Linked DNA regions of Homo sapiens: region 2 is linked to region 1. Evidence: promoter capture Hi-C in 16 types of primary human blood cells and fetal thymus (Javierre and others, 2016). All regions are on one chromosome and are shown on one strand. Each heading gives the region's core, a stretch centred on a gene start or on the middle of the fragment in contact. The rest is flanking DNA. Distances are from core to core; before and after follow the strand shown.

Evidence for each region. The method cuts DNA at HindIII sites, captures the fragments that hold promoters and counts their contacts. A CHiCAGO score of 5 or more calls a contact.
Region 2: a contact is called between the fragment with the promoter of UPRT here and the fragment with the promoter of PIN4 in region 1, in 2 of 17 cell types (total B cells and total CD8 T cells). The highest score is 7.4, in total B cells.

What each region holds. Positions count from the first base shown.
Region 1 is chrX:72,177,192-72,184,157 of GRCh38, forward strand. It overlaps PIN4 (peptidylprolyl cis/trans isomerase, NIMA-interacting 4), which reads left to right and starts at 4,566. Exons shown (of 4, transcript NM_006223.4): 1 at 4,566-4,637. The coding sequence starts at 4,595. RefSeq lists an enhancer at 4,606-4,825. The HindIII fragment of the contact is 4,711 bases long and covers 1-4,584 here.
Region 2 is chrX:75,270,585-75,277,830 of GRCh38, forward strand. UPRT (uracil phosphoribosyltransferase homolog) reads left to right here and starts at 3,501. Exons shown (of 7, transcript NM_145052.4): 1 at 3,501-4,056. The coding sequence starts at 3,671. It overlaps LOC124905200 (a long non-coding RNA gene), which reads right to left and starts at 3,452. Exons shown (of 4, transcript XR_007068269.1): 1 at 2,894-3,452. RefSeq lists enhancers at 3,392-3,441, 3,462-3,511, 3,672-3,881. The HindIII fragment of the contact is 1,552 bases long and covers 3,041-4,592 here.

The sequences.
Region 1 (6,966 bases), core at 3,316-5,815:
GGGAAGAGGGCTGCCAGCTTCTCTTCCTGATTTTCCTCAAGTAACGCATAAAAGAATGAACCTGATGAGGTAATTAGTAGAAAATACAACTGGCAGCCATTGCTGGCTGAGTCGCAGTGCACACTCCAGCAGATGTTACCATAGTTTCAAGGCTGAATTTTTCTCCTCTTTTCTCCCCCTGACCTCTCTCTTCAGTTAATTTGTCACTCTGCTCCACAGACCCCTCCACAGTCTGCCTCCATAGACTGGTGCAGACTTAACCCTGAATAGAAGCTGGCTTTTCTATGATTTGCTTTTCAAATTACGTTTATTGTCTTTTTCTCTTGAATAAAAAATAAGTGTCAAGTGATAGAATATAATATAAACTGAAGAAAATGAAAGTTAAACTCACATTTCAGAATACTTAAAATTGTATCCTAATACCTGCCCCATCTTTTTGTAATCATACTGCATAGTTGAGATCTGTCTTAAAGTGCTCCTGACCTTGAAACCTCCAGCAGGCCTATGCCCATTCTTTTCCCCTTGGAGCTGTTGGCCTTCAGTCTTGCTTGAAAAATGCAGCCATGGACACAGGCTTATTATCATTGTTGCTGTTATTATCTGCTGGAATGCACAGAGCTCTCACAGTGTTCCAGGCACTAAGCATTTGCTAGGCACATCAGCCATTGACAGACATTGGCTGTTCATTGGGATCGGAACTCTAGTTTGCTTCATTCCTACTTCACAACTGCCATAGCCAGTGGTCACAGGAAAGGCTCTTCCCAACGAAAAATCAAAAGTAGGGTCTCCCTCTGATGCCGAGCCAAGGCTGGACGGTGCTGCTGCCATCTCGGCTCACTGCAGCCTCCCTGCCTGATTCTCCTGCCTCAGCCTGCTGAGTGCCTGCGATTGCAGGCGCACGCCGCCACGCCTGACTGGTTTTCGTTTTTTTTTTGGTGGAGACGGGGTTTTGCTGTGTTGGCCGGGCTGGTCTCCAGCTCCTAGCCGCGAGTGATCCGCCAGCCTCGGCCTCCCGGGGTGCCGGGATTGCGGACGGAGTCTCGTTCACTCAGTGCTCAGTGGTGCCCAGGCTGGAGTGCAGTGGCGTGATCTCGGCTCGCTACAGCCTCCACCTCCCAGCCGCCTGCCTTGGCCCCCCAAAGTGCCGAGATTGCAGCCTCTGCCCAGCCGCCACCCCGTCTGGGAAGTGAGGAGCGTCTCTGCTTGGCCACCCATCGTCTGGGATATGAGGAGCCTCTCTGCCTGGCTGCCCAGTCTGGAAAGTGAGGAGCGTCTCTGCCCGGCCGCCATCCCATCTAGGAAGCGAGGAGCGCCTCTTCCCCGCCGCCATCCCATCTAGGAAGTGAGGAGCGTCTCTGCCCGGCCGCCCATCGTCTGAGATGTGGGGAGCACCTCTGCCCCGCCGCCCTGTCTGGGATGTGAGGAGCGCCTCTGCTGGCCGCAACCCTGTCTGGGAGGTGAAGAGCGTCTCTGCCCGGCCGCCCCGTCTGAGAAGTGAGGAAACCCTCTGCCTGGCAACCGCCCCGTCTGAGAAGTGAGGAGCCCCTCCGTCTGGCAGCCACCCCGTCTGGGAAGTGAGGAGCGTCTCCGCCCGGCAGCCACCCCGTCCGGGAGGGAGGTGGGGGGGGTCAGCCCCCCGCCCGGCCAGCCGCCCAGTCCGGGAGGGAGGTGGGGGGATCAGCCCCCCGCCCGGCCAGCCGCCCCGTCCGGGAGGGAGGTGGGGGGGTCAGCCCCCCGCCTGGCCAGCCGCCCCATCCGGGAGGGAGGTGGGGGGTCAGCCCCCCACCTGGCCAGCCGCCCCGTCCGGGAGGGAGGTGGGGGGGGTCAGCCCCCCGCCCGGCCAGCCGCCCCGTCCGGGAGGGAGGTGGGGGGATCAGCCCCCCGCCTGGCCAGCCGCCCCGTCCGGGAGGTGAGGGGCGCCTCTGCCCAGCCGCCCCTACTGGGAAGTGAGGAGCCCCTCTGCCCGGCCAGCCGCCCCGTCCGGGAGGGAGGCGGGGGGGGGGTCGGCCAGCCGCCCTGTCCGGGAGGGAGGTGGGGGGGTCAGCCCCCCGCCCGGCCGGCCGCCCCGTCCGGGAGGTGAGGGGCGCCTCTGCCCGGCCGCCCCTACTGGGAAGTGAGGAGCCCCTCTGCCTGGCCAGCCGCCCCGTCCGGGAGGATGGTGGGGGGGTCAGCCCCCCGCCCGGCCAGCCGCCCCATCCGGGAGGTGAGGGGCGCTTCTGCCCGGCCGCCCCTACTGGGAAGTGAGGAGCCCCTCTGCCCGGCCACGACCCCGTATGGGAGATGTGCCCAGCGGCTCATTGGGGATGGGCCATGATGACAATGGCGGTTTTGTGGAATAGAAAGGCGGGAAGGGTGGGGAAAAAATTGAGAAATCAGATGGTTGCCGGGTCTGTGTGGATAGAAGTAGACATGGGAGACTTTTCATTTTGTTCTGTACTAAGAAAAATTCTTCTGCCTTGGGATCCTGTTGATCTGTGACCTTATCCCCAACCCTGTGCTCTCTGAAACATGTGCTGTGTCCACTCAGGGTTAAATGGATTAAGGGCGGTGCAAGATGTGCTTTGTTAAACAGATGCTTGAAGGCAGCATGCTCGTTAAGAGTCATCACCACTCCCTAATCTTAAGTACCCAGGGACACAAACACTGCGGAAGGCCGCAGGGTCCTCTGCCTAGGAAAACCAGAGACCTTTGTTCACTTGTTTATCTGCTGACCTTCCCTCCACTATTGTCCTATGACCCTGCCAAATCCCCCTCTGCGAGAAACACCCAAGAATGATCAATAAAAAAAAAAAATAAAAAATAAAAAATAAAAAAAAAAAAAAAAGAAAGAAAAATCAAAAGTAAATGTTCCTCTTGGGCCTCTTGGCCATAGATAACCTGATGAACACAAGGCTACGCTGTCATCGTCAACACCCAATCCCAACTCCCCCGCCCCTCCATCTCGCAGCCGAACTTGGAGAATTAGTACAGGTGCGGGATCCACTTCAGAAGTGGCAGAGCAATGATCCCCTCACCACTAGATGTGTCCTCCGCAGTTGATCACTCCCAATCCGAAAACAAGGAGTGCCCAAAATGTGTCCAGAATTTAAAGCAGCCAAACATAAGAGGGCTCCATGTTATGTCTTGAGTAGGGAATGAGCACAGTCTCAGAAACACCTGATTCCCTGGTATGAGCATGAAGCATCTCCAGGTCCAGCAAGGCTGCATCCAAAAACTAAACTCTGAGCTGGAAGACCTCTATATTCTGGCTGGTAGTGGCAAGCTAGGACAGCTCTCTCATGGACTGGAGGAAACGCCCTGACATATCATATACAAATTATTGATGGTGGGAGGGATTGTAAGGGGAGAAAAAGTGTGTGGGCACAAATTCAAAAATCATTTATCTTAGGCAAACATTATTAATATGAGCAAGCCATCATTTTATGTGCTTTACAGATATGAACTTGTTTAATTCTCTTAACACCTGATAGGATAATAGTAGGTACTATTATCATCAACTCCATTTCACAGATGATGAAACTGAGCCAAAGAGAGGTGAAGTAACTTCCTCAAGGTCATGGAGCTAGTAGACAGATGTGGAGCAGGGATTTGAAACTGGGCAATCTGGCTCCAGAATCCATGCTTTTACTACACTATGCTGCACCATTATGGAAATTTTGGAAAATACACAGAAACAAACACGATGACCTGTATGCACTAGCACCACTGGCCACATCTTGCTCTATAGCTTTCCTCTCCTTTATATTCATATAACATACAATACATTACATATACTTCTTTTACAAGGAATCATATTCTTTATCTTGGTCTTAAAAACATTTCCCCTATCTGTACACACAGCCTTACAATCGTTATTTTGAATGTTGTATAATATCTTCTTGTGTGGCTAAAACATTATTTAAGCAGTACCCGACTGAGGAGCACTCAGACTGCTTCCAATGTTTCTCCATGACTGAGCTCTGCAAGACGCAAAAAGGTGACAGGCTTTTTTAAAAACTACCTTTTGAACCTAATTAGCTACAACTGCAGAATAAAATTAACAAACGAAAAACTGCCAGGGAGGGCAGCCCTGTGTGTAGGAGGAGACAGCGGAAGTTGGCCGCCACCACAGTACTCCTGCTTCCCTTTGTCTGGCGGCCCCGCGGGATTGGCCAGAGCTGGCGCCGAGGGACTGCAGAGCCACCCACCCCCGTGGCTCCTACTGCGCACGCGTGAAAAAAGCCAGGTTGAGGGGAACGGGGGAGCTTCGGGCGTAGAGTGTGGGGAGTGGGGGATCTGGTGCAAATTAGGGTGCGTGAAAGAAGTCACAAAAAGCGCAGAGGCCAGGCTTCCCGCCCTAATCCGGCCTTTGTCTCCGCCCCTCTGCCTTTGTTTCGGCCCAAGCGTCTTATTGGTCAGACATCTTCAGCCCCATTGGTCCAAGAGCCAAAGGACGGGGTCTGCCCCAAGCTGTGCCTGCTTCCGGAGCCGCAATAAGAACGGTCAATTGAGATGCGGCTTTCAGGCATTTGTTTAGGACATGCCCATGGCGGGGCTTCTAAAGGGGCTTGTACGGCAACTGGAGCGGTTCAGCGTTCAACAACAAGCTTCCAAGATGCCGCCCAAAGGAAAAAGTGGTTCTGGAAAAGCGGGGAAAGGTAGAGCGGCCAGAGCGATCAAGGAGAATGGGGGCGGGTGAGGAGCGAAGGGAGGGAACAGACAGTCCATCTCCGGAGTCCGGGACGGACGCAGCAGGTAGCCAGTGGCCCCACAGTGCTGCCATCGATTACATCTGTAGGAATACATTGGGCTACGGTTCAGGGACCGTCCTAGTGGGTAATGGAATCTGATGGGGATAGTTCCTCGGAGGCGATGACTTAGGGCTGCTATTTCAAGGGGTTATTAGAGCTCTAAAATTGGGTCTTATCAAAAGCCAGCAATAGGAAGTACACATTGGTTATGGTCCTTAAAGTTCACTTTAATGCTTACAGAATGACATGCCCACCATCGGGGAAGGAATCATTCATCCATTGAACAGAAATGTGTCAGGCAGAGTGCTAAGCGCTGAGGATACACAAATAAGACAGAAGGCTGGGCGCGGTGGCTCACGCCTATAATCCCAGCACTTTGGGAGGCCGAGGGAGGATGGATCACGAGGTCAGGAGTTCGAGACCAGCTTGGCCAACATGGCGAAACCCCGTCTCTACTAAAAATACAAAAATTCGCCAGGCGTGGTGGTGGTGCGCGCCCGTAATCCCAGCTACTCGGGAGGCTGAGGCAGGAGAATCGCTTGAACTCGGGAGGCAGAGGTTGCAATGAACCGAGATCGCGCCACTGCACTCCAGCCTGGGCGACAGAGCGAGCCTCTGTCTCAAAAAAAAAAAAGAGATTTTGGCCTTAAGGAGCTCCCGAAGTAGTGAGGAAGATAAAGGCTTAGTGATCATAAAGCACTGTACTAAATGTAGTGTTGAGGGATGTGTATGGGATATAATAGAAATTGAGGGAAGTCCTTCATTTAGCTGGGGAACAGGGAACGGAAGACTTCCTGGAGATGAATTAGGCAGGTCAAGATGTGCATTGAGGGTAGGTTAAAGCATTCCTTACTTGGGGTCCAGCAGCAAAAGCACTGAGGTGAGAAACAGCATGATGTGTGCAGCGTAGTGTTGCTGGAGCAAAAACTCAAGGCAGAATGGCAAGTGGTGAGAATGAAAACAGAAACAAAGACGAGATCATGGAGAGTGCTATATATTCTGCTAAGAAGGACAGTTAAGGATCAGAAAGACCTGTAAGGAGATTGTTGTGGTAGTCTTGGTGAGAGATGATGGTGGACTGACCTAAGGGAGTGGCTGTGGGAACTGAGAAAAGAGAAAAGATTCTGTAAATATTAGGATGTGAAATAGTCAAGACTTGGTGATTTATTGGGTTGGGGAGGGGTGGTGAGGGAGGATCAACGATCATTCTGTTTTCTGGATTGGATTTCTAACCTGTTGCTGGTCCTGCAGGGTAACATCAAGGATACATGAGGAGCGGGGATGAGATTGATGAATTCACTTTCAGATAGATTGGCTTTGAGGTGTCTGTGGGACATCTCAGTGGAGATGTAGTCAGGAAGTGGTTGGATATTTGAGTCTAAAGTTTGAGGGAGAGGTCTAGACTGTACATGTAAGTTTTAGGAGTCGCTAACTTATAGATGGTAGTTGAGCCCATTAGAGTGTATGCAATTATCCATGGAGAGTTTATAGAATGAAAAGAGCAGAGAGCAGAGGATGTGATCCTAGGACAGGCAGAGAAAGAGGCAGACAGATAGAGGGAGTGCAGAATGGTGGCCAGAGGCTGGAGAGACCAGAATGTTTTAAAGAGAGAGGGTATAGTCTATCAAGAACAGCAGATTTGGAAATTAGAGGTGGCCTTGGGTAAAAGTGGTTTCAGTGAAACAGAAGCCAGATTACCGTGACTAGAGAACTGACTGGGAAGTGGTAATTTGGACTTCTTGGAAAGTTTTAATTGAAAAGCATGGAAATGGGATGGTAGATAGAGAAGGACAGAGGATTAAGAGAAAGTTTTATTTTCTTTGCTTCTTTGGAATGGGGAAAACTTGGGAGTGAAGCTGAAGGATCCAGTAAAGTAAAAGAGGTAAAGGTACAGAAGAGTGAGATTTAGGAGAAAATGGAATCCAGGACCTAGGGGGAGCAGGGACACCTTATGCTTGAGGTCATAGGAAAGGAGATGGAGGGGCAGGGACTCAGTAGGCATCTTGAGGAGAGTGGTAAAGGTCTGGAATATCGTAATGGAAGAGGGAATGAAACACAAAAGAAGTGCCTTCAGGGCTAGGAGCCTGACTAAGATCAAAGGCCATGAATTTGTAGACTACATAATCTTCACAGTCTGATTTACCTAGTACTATGCAATTGGCACAATATAGGATTGAAAAGAGCTAGGTGCAGCCTTAAGCCATGGTTGAGGTTTTGTTAGGCAGTTATGATAGGA
Region 2 (7,246 bases), core at 2,251-4,750, 3.1 Mb after region 1:
GATGAGTTCATGTCTTTTGCAGGGACATGGATGAAGCTGGGAACCATCATTCTCAGCAAACTAACACAAGAACAGAAAACCAAACACCTCATATTCTCACTCATAAGTGTGAGTTGAACAATGAGAACACATAGATACACGGAGGGGAACATCACATGCTGTGGTCTTTCAGGGTTGGGATGCTAGGGGAGGGATAGCATTAGGAAAACTACGTAATGTAGGCGATGGGTTGATGGGTGCAGAAAACCTCCATGGCACATGTATACCTATGTAACAAATCTGGACGTTTTGCACAAATACCCCAGAACTTAAAGTATAATAAGGAAAAAATAAACACTTTATGTGAAAAAAAAATCCTTAGGAATATATCTAAACAAGAAGGTGAAAGACCTCTACAAGGAAAATTCAAAACACTTCTGAAAGTAATCATAGACGACACAAACAAATGGAAACATAACCCATGTCATGGACGAGTAGAATCAATATTGTGAACAGGATCATAATGCCAAAAGCAATCTACACATTCAATGCAATTCTCATCAAAATACTAATATCATTCTTCACAGAATTAGAAAAAACAATTCTAAAATTCATATTGAAGCAAAATAGCCCATATAGCCAAAAAGAATAAATCTGGAGGCATCATATTACCTGGTTTCAAACTATGCTATAAGGCAATAGTTACGAATACAGCATGGTACTGGTATTAAAATATACCCACAGACCAATGGAACAAAACACAAAATCAGAAATAAATCCAAATACAGCCAACTGATCTTCGACAAAGCAAACAAAAATATAAAGTGGGGAGAGGACACCCTTTTCAACTAATGGTGCTGGAATAATTGGCTAACCACATGTAGGAGAATGAAACTGGATCCTCATCTCTCACCTCATACAAAAATCAACTCAAGATGGATTAAGGACTGAAATCTAAGACCTGAAACTATAAAAATTCTAGAAGATAACTTTGGAAAAACCCTTATAGACATTGGCTTAGCCAAAGATTTCATGACCAGGAACACAAAAGCAAATGCAATAAAAACAAAGATAAATAGCTGGGACTTAATTAAACTAAAGAGCTTTTGCACAGCAAAAGGAACAGTCAGCAGAGTAAACAGACAACCCATACAGTGGGAGAAAATCTTCACAATCTATACATCTGACAAAGGACTAATATCCAGGATGTACGAGGAACTCAAATCAGAAAGACAAAAACAAACAATCCCATCAAAAAGTGGGCTAAGGACATGAATAGACAATTCTCAAAAGAAGATATACAAATGGCCAAGAAATGTATTAAAAAATGCTCAACATCACTAATTATCAGAGAGATGCAAATTAAAACCACAATTTAATACCACCTTACTCTTGCAAGAATGGCCATAATCAAAGAAATTAAAAAATAGTAGATGTTGGCATGGATGTGGCAAACAGGGAACACTGCTACACTGCTGGTAGGAATGTCAACTAATGGAAACAGTGTGGAGATTCCTTAAAGAACTAAAAGTAGAACTACCATTTCATCCAGCAATCCCATTACTGGGTATCTACCCAGAGGAAAAGAAGTCATTATACAGAAAAGATAGTTGCACACGCATGTTTATAGCAGCATAATTCGCAATTGCAAAAACGTGGAACCAACCCAAATGTCCATCAATCAATGAGTGGATAAAGAAGCTGTGAGATATATATATATATACACATATATATGTGTATATATATGTGTATATATACATATATATGTATATATATATATACACATATATATATGTGTATATATATATATGTATATATATATGGAATACTACTCAGCCATAAAAAGGAATGAATTAATGGCTTTTGCAGCGACCTGGATGAGATTGGAGACTAATATTCTAAGTGAAGTAACTCAGGAATGGAAAACCAAACATTGTATGTTCTCACTCATAAGTGGGAGCTTAGCTATGATGGATACAAAGGCATATGAATGATACAATGAACTTTGGGGTCTTGGAGGAAAAGGGTGGGAAGGGCTTGAGAGATAAAAGACTACAAATAGGGTACAGTGTATACTGCTCGAGTGATGGATGCACCAAAATCTCTCAAATCACCACTAAAGAACTTACTCATCTAACCAAACAGCACCTGTTCCCCAATAACCTATGGAAATAAAAAAAAAATTATAAAAAAATCTGTATAGGCATGTTAAAAAAAGGAAGGACAGAAATACCATTCAACTCAGCAATCCCATTACTGGGTATATACCCAAAGGAACATAAATTATTGTTTTATTAAAGACACATGCACACATATGTTAACTCCAGCACTATTTACAATAACAAAGACATGGAATCAACCTAACTACCCATTAATGATAGAATGGATAAAGAAAATGTGGTACATATACACCATGGAATACTATGCAACCATAAAAAATAATGAGATCATGTCCTTTGCAGGGACATGGATGGAGCTGGAGCCTATTATCCTTAGCAAACTAACACAAGAACAGAAAACCAAATGCTGCATGTTCTCACTTATAAGTGGGAGCTAAATGATGAGAACACATGGACACATAGTGGGGAACAACACACACTGGAGCCTACTGCAGAGTGCATGGTGTGAGAAGGGAGAGGATCAGGAAAGACAACTAGTGGGTACTAGGCTTAATACCTGGGCGATGAAATAATCTTTACAACAAGCCCCCATGACAGAAGTTAACCTATGTAACAAACCTGCACATATATCCCTGAACTTAAAAGTTAAAAAAAAAAAAAGATTCTTGTATCCCATCTCGGATCTACAGAATCACAATCTCAAAAATGAGCCGTAAGAACCTGCATTTTAACAAGCTCTACAATTATTGTGGTACATACTGATGTTTGAAAAGTACTGCCCTAGACACTCTTACCTCAGGCCGTTATAGTGAGTCCATACACTTAAAAATAAGCGTCTTTCCAAGTACTTTAAAGATTCAAAATGATAGTGGATCTGAAATGCCGCCTGAGTCCCCATGACAACGTGTACACTGTGGGGCCCAACCAATAAAGATAAGAAAAGCTTTGGCGGTCAAGCATACTTGGGAAGCTGCAGTTTCTAGAACAGTCTAGTAGAGGACAGCCTCTTCAGCAGCCTGCTAGGCATTTTTTTACTTCTTCCTTCTGTTATGCAGACAAGCTAACTGAAGATGCGGTTACTGAGATATAATTTCTCTGCTAGGTCACAAAGTCTGAAAACATGGGCCTTACGTGTGTAACTGTGTATCATCACCTGCCACCCCCAGTTTTTCCTGGCTCTACTAATCACCCAAAGTTCTGAATGCAGAAGCCCCAGGGGCCCCCGGAAGATCCTTCAAGCTGGCATCCTTGGCCTCGCTGCGGGGGCTTAGCTACCTGTGGGAACCCACGTAGCAAGGGTGACTCAAAGGGTTAACAAGCAGTGGCGCCGCAGAGTGGCGGGGAGTGCAGCCAATAGGGTGTCTAGGCAGGCAGTACGTCTGGTGTGGGCGGGAGTGAGCCAAAGTGTGCTAAAGGAAACCAACAGCGGCCTAGGGGTGAAAGGACAGCCAGGGTTAGATGTTCTGAGGAGGCGGGAGCAACCGAGAGAGCACGTGAGCATCTGTCCTTTCTACCCGTTCCTCTTTATCTTTAGTGTTCAGTAGCAGCGGGGATAGCCCGGGGCCCGGTGTATGGCCACGGAGTTACAGTGTCCGGACTCCATGCCCTGTCACAACCAGCAAGTAAACTCTGCCTCAACCCCAAGTCCCGAGCAGCTGCGACCTGGCGATCTGATCCTGGACCACGCAGGGGGAAACAGAGCCTCCAGGGCCAAGGTGATTCTCCTCACGGGGTACGCCCATTCTAGCCTGCCGGCCGAGCTGGACTCTGGGGCCTGCGGCGGCTCCAGCCTCAACTCAGAGGGCAACAGTGGTAGTGGTGACAGTAGCAGCTATGACGCACCAGCTGGCAACTCCTTCCTAGAGGACTGCGAACTCTCCCGGCAGATCGGGGCGCAGCTTAAGCTGCTGCCTATGAATGATCAGATACGGGAGCTACAGACCATCATCCGTGACAAGTAAGCCAAGAGCGGAAGGGGAAAGGGAAGTGGAGGGTCTTGCAGGCTGTGGGCGGGGATTGGAAGTAAAAGGGCTAAGAGACAGTGTTCTTGGCCTTGGCAAACTTTGGAGATTGGGGTAAGACCTTTTATTTGGTGTGTGTGTGTGTGTGTGTGTGTGTGTGTGTGTGTGTGTGTCGTGTAACTCGAACGCCAACCTTCTCTTTCCAAGTTCCGGTGTCTAACATCACTTTGGGTGGGGAGGAAGACTTTAGGTAGCCTCTGGGCTCTTTGTCTCTCCCAGGAAAGACAACTCCTTGGCCATTCCAGGCAGGTAAACTCCCCTATACTATGTGGGCAGTGCTTGTCCACATGGTAAACCTATAACCCAGAAATGGTTACTATCCAAGGTTATGCACTACCACCAATCACCTCAGGTTCATAAATAGAAATAAAGCAATTTCAAGGAAATTCTATTCAGGCCCTGACCCTTTAGTATTTGCTACTGCAAACAAGGTCTTTTAGTCTTGGAGTTCAGGTTTACTTGATCACATGAAAGCTTATCGTCCAACTCTTATCATTTTTCACTGTAAACTCACAGAACATAGTTAATGGATCAAAGGGAGCCTAAAGGAGCCTTTGGCCCTTCCTAATCCCACAAACCAATGTAGCCAGAACTTCATGTTAAAATGTAATTTTGAAATTTCTAAACCTACGTTGTAAATGGGTTTTCTCCAGGGAAATATGTACCATGATGAACTACAGCTATTTTCTTTATTGGCAGCACTTTAAATGAGCAGCATATCAAAACACCCCTTTTTTAGTGGCAGGGGTTGGGGGGACATGCCTTGATCTTTTAAAAATGGCTACTGAATGACAGATGCCACTCCCTAAACCAGACTCTAGAAACCTTGTCTTACACTATTGTAATAATACTGTTTCTCTGCTTGCAGTTTTTCCTCTCTTCCACATGCACCCATACATTACTGTACAATCAATCTTCATAACATACATCTTTGATTCAGTAATTGCCCTACTCAGCAACCTTCTTTGGCTTCTCAGAGCCTACCAAATAAAGTCCAGGATCCTTAGCTTGATTGATATTTTTGAGACAGGATCTTTCTCTGTCACCCAGGCTGGAGTGCAGTGGTGAGATCACAGCTTACTGTACCCTCATACTTCTGGGCTCAAGTAATCCTCCTGCCTTAGCCTCCTGAGTAGCTGGGACTACAGGGACATGGCACTGCCCCCCGGCTAATTTTTTATTTTTTTGTAGAGATGGAGGTCTTGCTATATTGTCCACGATGGTCTTGAACTCCTGGCCTCAAGCAATCCTCGTGCCTCGGCCTCCTAAAATGTTGGGATTACAGGTGTGAGCCACCATGCCTGGCCCCCTTAGCTTGGGATGAAGGCCCTTCTTCATAGTTCCTAGGAACAATTCTGAAACATATCTGTTTCTGCTCTCATCTGGAATTCCCTGTGTCTCCTTTATGTACGTTCAGGATACTTATTCTTCAGGGTGAAACACAGCATTAAATAATTGTCCACCTCTGCCAAGAAGCTTCCCTTTAATCATTATTCCTGGCTTATCTTCCCTGGTCTTTTTAATGCAAGATTCACCTTCTTTTTCGTATATTGTTATTTTTGTATAGATCTTATCCTGCCTATGACATCTTGAAGGCAGAAATCTTTTACATTTTTGAATGCCGGCCATGCCTTGCAAATAATAGATGCTCAATTACTAGAGTTTTTTTGTAGCTCTTAAAATTATATTTATGAAACTATACTATTTTACTCTTTTTAATGAATCAATATTGAAAACTACTGTGGTTATGTTATCTAATAGACAAAATAGTGATCCTAAAAAATAGGAGGCATAGGTTTGCTGTAGTTGTGGTAGGGTAGGGGCAGCCAAAATAAATCTTACATATACAACAAAGAAAAATAGATGATGATTCTTGTTTCTATAGAGCAGAAGTTACTACGCTTGGGTCTTCGACTCCCTCGTACCAGTAGATGGGTTCAGGGCTTTAACAAACCCTCATAAATTAACTGGGAAATTTTACTCATATGAAGATTTTTAATAGTTGTTTTTAAATAACATCTTTATTGAGATATAATTCACAGACCATACAGTTCAAGAATTTAAAGTGTATAATTCAGTGGTTTTAAGTATGTTCACAGCTGTGCATTCATCACCACAGTTTTAGAACATTTGTCATCACCCCAGCAAGAAACCTCATGCCCATTAAACAGTCACTCCCCATTTTCACCCAACCCACCCAAAGCCCTAGACAATCATTAATCTACTTTCTATTTCTAATGGTTTGCCCATTCTGCACATTACATATAAAAAATGTCTATTCTGGACATTTCATTATCATACAATATGTGGTCATTTTGTGACTCATTTCATTTAGCATGTTTTCAAGGTTCATCCGTGTGGGATCTTTCCTTTTTATGATTAAATGATACTCCATTATATGAATATACCACAATTTGTTTATCCATCAGTTGGTGAACATTTGGGTGGTTTACCACTCTTTGGCTATTATGAATAATGCTGCTATGAACATTCACATATGTGCCTTTTTTTTTAGAGGGTGAGGATTCCTTAGTTTTTTAGATTTCACAAAGTGTCATGATAATGTAAAGGTGAAGTGCCCTTGCTATAGCGCTTGGAGAGGGAATGGCATTTAGCATTCACATATGACAAAATAATACCTGATTATATGTCATTAGTCAGAAAAACCTGGGTTATGTAGTAAACCTGGGTGTAAGTGGAATCCTTTTTTTTTTTTCCTCTAAGTTTGGAAGGAGACAGCAGGATCCAGAGAAGTGATTTAGGCAATATGTTTAGCATCTCTGTGCTTCACCTTTATCATTTGTAAAATGAAGATGTTGGTAAATATCACATGGAGCCCCTGGGAGGCTAAAACAAGATACTGTTCATGAATATTCATTATGAACTGTGAAGAGCTGTTCACATTTAAGGAATTTCAAGCCTCATGTTTGGATTTGTGCATGCTTCTAATTGCATTCATAAGTGCTGTCTTCTTGATTTGTCAGAAGACAGTAAAATGAATTTAACTCTATGTGGAATTCACTTTTTTATCTTGAAAATGAATACTGGGATATTGTAGATAATTTTTATCTTGTTTTGATATAGTATGGAAAGACCCACCACAATTTTTAGTAATGTATTGCTGCT